2 separate regions of the Homo sapiens genome follow, and region 2 is linked to region 1. The links are contacts of gene promoters, found by promoter capture Hi-C in blood cells and fetal thymus (Javierre and others, 2016). All regions are on one chromosome and are shown on one strand. The core of a region is centred on a gene start or on the middle of the fragment in contact, and the rest is flanking DNA. Distances in the headings are between cores, read along the strand shown.

Region 1 (2,700 bases), core at 73-2,572:
TCCAGAACATACACATTAAAAGAACCTTACAACTTATCAACAAAAAGACAACTCCAATAAAAAATGAGCAAAGAACTTAAACAGCCAAAGATACATAAATTGCCAACAAGCACATGAAAAGCTGCTCAAAAGCATCAGTAGTCAGGGAAATGTTAATCAAAACCACAATGAGATGCTACATCATACTCACTAGGAAGGCTAGATTTAAAAAAAAAAGAAAAAGAAAAGCAAATGTTGGTGAGGATACGGAGAAACTGGAACCCTCATTAAGCACAGAATTACTACATAACCCAGCAGATCTACTCTTAGGTATTATACCCCGAAGAACAGAAAAAAGGCACTCAAACAAATGCATGTACACACATGTTCACAGCGGCATTCATTCATAACAGCCAAAAAGTAGAAACAATTCAAACGTTCAACTGATGAATGGATAAACCATTGTGATACCGCCATACAATGGAATATTATTCAGCCATAACAACGAATGAAGTACTGATACGTGCTGCAAGGTGGATGAACCTGATACATTATGCTAGGTGAAGGAAGCCAGACACAAAAGGTCGTGTGTATGATTCCATTTACATGAAATGCCCAGAATAGGTAAATCCATAGAGACAGAAAGCGGACTGGTGGTTGCCAAGGCCTGGGAGGGAGAGGAGGATTGGCCGTAAGTGCTTCATGGAGTTGGCTGTCCTTCGGCGAAATATTTTGGAAATAGCAGAATGGTGCTTGCACAACATTGTAAATTTACTAAACGCCACTGAATTGTTCACCTTAAAATGGTCAATATTACGTTATGTGAATTTCACTTTAATTACAAAAAGAGAAACGCTAGCGTTTACGCAGGCGGAGGGCAGGCTGGACTGGGGACGCTCCTCCCGGCCGCCTCGTTGCTGGCAGCGCTTCCGCCCGCCGGCGCACCAGTCAGTACCGCGCCCGGCGAATGTGGAGGGCGAAGCTGCGGCAGGGCAATCACAAAAGGGCTGTCAGAGAGGAGGCGAGGCGGGAGGAAGATGGAGAGGCGGGTGGGAGCCTCACCTTTGGACTCTATCGCCACAGCCCGGTCTAGCCGCTACGCCCGAGCTCAAGTCTGACTCGAAACTCCGCTGGGTGCCTGAGAGGACCCGGCAGGCCAAGGGGTGGAACTGAGGGGGCGGGGACGCGGCGGGCGGGTGGGGCCGCCTCCCGGCTGGGCACGCCTCCAAGCCAGACTGGACGCGAAGGAAACCGGAACCTGTCTGCCTACGGTGCCTGTTTCCGGAAGCAGCTTGAGTCCGGACACCAACGACGGGGACGCTGGGAAGCCGACTTCCGGCGCCCTATTTTCTCACCTGGTTCCCGCGGCGAGCCAGCGGCAGCGGCGGCGGCGATGAGACAGAAGCACTACCTTGAGGCTGCAGCGCGGGGACTGCACGACAGCTGCCCGGGCCAAGCCCGCTACCTCCTGTAAGAGGACTGGAGGGGAAGCGGGAGGCGAGCGGGTAGGTGTTCCTTTGCTCCTCACAAGTCTCTTTCTCTTTTACAGCTGGGCCTACACTTCGTCGCACGGTAAGAAGAACGCCTGTCTCTTGTGCTTTGGGCTCTTGTCGCCCCGCTTTCCTCTGTTCCGCACAACGCTCAAATAAGGCCGATGGACTCACTTCCCTCCATAAAAACAACAACAACAAAGCCCGCATGTGTCTCGGTTTCGTGAAAAATCCAAATTCTTTAATGTGCCTTGTCTTGCTTTGTTAGCGGCATTTGACACATTGATCAGTCTTGAAATAGTTTCCTCCCTTGGCTTCTAGGTCATTACGTAGTTCACCTCTTCATTTATTACTTCTCGATTTGCTTTGCTGGTTCCTCCTAATCTCCCCAAGCTTTAAGTATTGTCGTGGCCCAGTACTCAGCCCTTGGACCTCTTTTCTAGGCACACTCGCTTCCTTGGTGACAGTTTTTCATCCAATCTCATGGCTTTTAAATACCATATACTGAGGACTTACAAATGTATATACTCAGCGCAGACCTCTCCTCTGAATTCTAGACTCATATATCCGAATGTCTTCTTGACAAATTCTTTTCAATGTCTAGTAATTCAAACTTAGCTAATATGTCCAAAACCTGAGCTTTAACCCCCAACAAGATCCTCCAGTTTTTCTCATTTCAGTAAATAATTCCATTCTTCCCTTACAGTTATTGAGCCCAAAAACCTTGGAGCTATTCTTGACTCCCTAACTCTCTCTCCTCCCCCAGGCCAGTATGCGAGCAAATCCTGTTGGCTTTAAAATGTAGCCAAAATCAGCCAGGAGCGGTGGCTCACCCCTGTAATCCCAGCACTTTGAGATGCAGAGGCGGGCGGATCATTTGAGGCCAGGAGTTCGAGACCAACCTGGCCAACATGGCGAAACGCTGTCTCTACTAAAAATACAAAAAAATTACCTGGCATGGTGGTGCACGCCTGTAATCCCAGCTACTCGAGAGGGTGAGGCATGAGAATCTCTTGAACCCGGGAGGTGGAGGTTGCAGTGAGCGGAGATGGCGCCATTGCACTCCACTCCTCACCACATCCATTGCTACTACCCTGCTCCAGGCCATCACCAGCTCTCTCCTGGATTAATAAAAGTGAAAGTCCTTTAAAAGGATTGTAAGGCCCTGTGTCATAGACCTGCATACCTCTCTGACGTACTCTTTCCTTCACGCAACTCCAGTCACACTAGG
Region 2 (2,836 bases), core at 134-2,633, 6.0 Mb after region 1:
GTTTTTTTCTTTCTATTGTAATTTCTATAGTCTTTTTATTTCTAAGAGTAAGAAATAACTTATTGAGCTTTGAGTAGATGCTGTTTGAGTAGACTTTATGTTTGAAAATTCTTGTTCAAAAATATTTTTTTGAAAAGAAACCGCATTAACAGAAGAACATCTTTAACCTCCCCATCAGAAAGAAACATGGGAACTTGGCAGCAGCATAATTAAAACACATAGTTATCTAAAGCTCTTTATGAGTTTGTTTCATCTTTATATGTTCTTGGTAGCTTTTTGACAAAAACAAGACAAAGGTTATATATTGTTTCACTTTGAAGCAGGATAACCAAACTTAGGCTGAATTCTGGCTATGTGCTAAATTTCTGATTTATAGACATGGGAAATGTTTTTGTATGAATCTACTATTGTATTCACTTTTAGAACATGCCTTTTATGGAAAAGAAAGGAGAAATCAATTTGTACAGCAAAAAGACTAGTAATAGCTAACATTTATTGAATACTAACTGTATGCCAGCCACTGTTCTAAGTACTTTTTACTTGTATTGATTTATTTAATTTTTCCAGTTACCTTGTGGGATACAAGTCCTTTTATCCTATTTTATAAAAGAGGAAACCGAGGTACAGAGAGGTTAAGTAGTTTACCCTAGGTTATGTGGGTAATAGCACAGCTGTGATTCAAGTACAGGCAGTTTGACTATATAGTCTACTGTAATGTCATTTAAAGAAAACAGTTATGTAATTATTTAAATTTTGATTTTAGTCATTGTAAATGTGGCATTCTTCAGTTGGTTAGGAATTTGATCTCTGTTATTCCTTAGATCTTCACCAAAGTGATGAAATGTGTGTGCTCATTTCTCATCCTTCTCTCCTTCCACTCTCTGTGTAGAATTCTCTGTCATAGTTCTGAGCGCTTGGAGGAGAAAAGAATGGCATGTGCAAAGCAGTGTGACATGGATTTTAGTTGCTTGGTTAATTGCTTTACATTCCATTGGGGGCTTAAAGCTTGGCAGTGGAGATATACATTTCCATGTATAGAATTCTCTTTATTTTTAGGAATCTAAAATTTCCTGTAATGAACTGTATTAATTTACTTCTACCCTGAACATTCTCTTTTTCCCTAGCATGTTTCGCCAAGGGATGCATGACTTGAAAGTCTGGCCTAATGTAGAAGCAGATGGATCAGAACCCACAAAAACTCCTGGCAGAACAAGTAGCACTCTCTCAGAAGATCAGATGAGCCGTCTTGCCAAGGTAAAAAAAGTCATTTGGAACAGGTGCAAAGCTCTGACTGATGTCTATTGTAGTATATATACCTTGACATTATGAACTCTGTCAGATTTTTAAAAAATCTAAATCTTAACTTTTAAATAATTGTTTTATTGAGATATAATTCACATACCATAAAGTTCACCCTTGGAAAGCATACAGTCTGATGGTTTAGTAAATTTACAGACTTGTATAATCATCACCACTATATAATTTTAGAATTTTTTCATCACCCCTAAAAGAAACCGCACCATTAACAGTCACTCCCATTTTCTGCTCCCTGCAGTTAGTTCCAGGCAAGTACTAATCTACTTACTATCTGTATGGATTTGCCTGTTCTGGAAATTTCATATAAATGGAATCATTCAGTATGTGACCTTATGTCTGGAAATCTGTCAGGTTTGAAAATGTGGAGCGTTGGTGATATTTTCAAGATGACCACCCACTTTTTCTGGTGACATAGCCTTAAAGTTGTTAGTGTAACATTCTAGAGAAGCTTATGCCACTTGGAAGTGAAGATGACTCAGACAATTAACTAGTATAAAGTTTCTTTGTAAGCAAATGAAGTTATTACCTTTTTCTTTCAAAATTGTTTTAATCAAGTGTTTTCACTTAGAAATATAAAAACTAAATTCTATTCCGTGCATTAATTGCAACGCTGTCATTTATTTTGTGAACTTCCTTTCACAAAGCACTGTGTTAGATACTGTTTAAGGATCCCTTTACAGTTATCTGATTAGGACACTTTCTTGTAGTTATAATACATACTTTTTTTTTGCAATCTTATTAGTAGGAGTGCCTCTTTAATGTCTGGAGGAAGTTTTGTTGCTAAGCTTTTAACAGCTTGTTGCCTTTACCCACATATAGAAGAAATCTTCAAGAATAAGTACTTGGGTTGGCTAGGCTTCATGCTTCAACACAGAATTTTTGTCAAGTTCATTTTGTCTTTTGTATTGCTCTTTTAAGGAAAAATGGTGTTGTAGCAACCTGATAACTATATTGACCAATATACTATTGTCTGCTTCTCCCATCCATAATTAAATAAAATTTAATATTCATTTCTTCTACTCATTCTGAGATTTTGTTTGCATTCTGACGTGGGATATAGGAAAGGTCTCAAGCTTTTCATATGTCTACCTTTAAGACTTTATCTTAGTGATGATCTTTCATTTGAGCTACTCTCTGTCCCTTTTACAAACCTTGAATAGTTAATATAAATTTTATTAGAATCAATTCATTTATAGCCTGTGGGTCACTATAATATGAAAAAGGTTAAATTAAAAAAGAATAAAGAATAATATTTTTAAAAAAGCTCTTAAATTGTCTTTTAAGAGTAGCCATTATGATTCATATTGTAGGTGAAATTCTAAGTCTGAGGGGGAATGGCCAGAGTCAAGAAATATAAAGCTTTATAGTTGCACAGTGTAACTACATTGTTTCTCTGTTAAACACATTATTTAGGCTTCTGTTCACCTAAAAAGTTAGGTTTCTAATTTTTTTCCCTAATTCTTTTTGATGGAAGGTTTAAAAAATAATTTTTGTAACAACTATGACATTTTTCAGGCAT

The links. The method cuts DNA at HindIII sites, captures the fragments that hold promoters and counts their contacts. A CHiCAGO score of 5 or more calls a contact.
Region 2: a contact is called between a fragment that was not itself captured here and the fragment with the promoter of RMP24 in region 1, in 1 of 17 cell types (non-activated CD4 T cells). The highest score is 6.3, in non-activated CD4 T cells.

What each region holds. Positions count from the first base shown.
Region 1 is chr18:35,971,357-35,974,056 of GRCh38, forward strand. RMP24 (ribonuclease MRP subunit p24) reads left to right here and starts at 1,323. Exons shown (of 5, transcript NM_031446.5): 1 at 1,323-1,449; 2 at 1,529-1,551. The coding sequence starts at 1,373. LOC105372066 (a long non-coding RNA gene) reads right to left here and starts at 1,095. Exons shown (of 4, transcript NR_188032.1): 1 at 1,042-1,095. RefSeq lists silencers at 810-1,104, 1,044-1,193 and an enhancer at 1,113-2,005. The HindIII fragment of the contact is 7,007 bases long and covers 1-1,860 here.
Region 2 is chr18:41,969,203-41,972,038 of GRCh38, forward strand. It overlaps PIK3C3 (phosphatidylinositol 3-kinase catalytic subunit type 3), which reads left to right. Exons shown (of 25, transcript NM_002647.4): 4 at 1,125-1,254. Among named protein-coding and RNA genes, the nearest start is that of PIK3C3, 15 kb to the left of the region's middle. The HindIII fragment of the contact is 760 bases long and covers 1,004-1,763 here.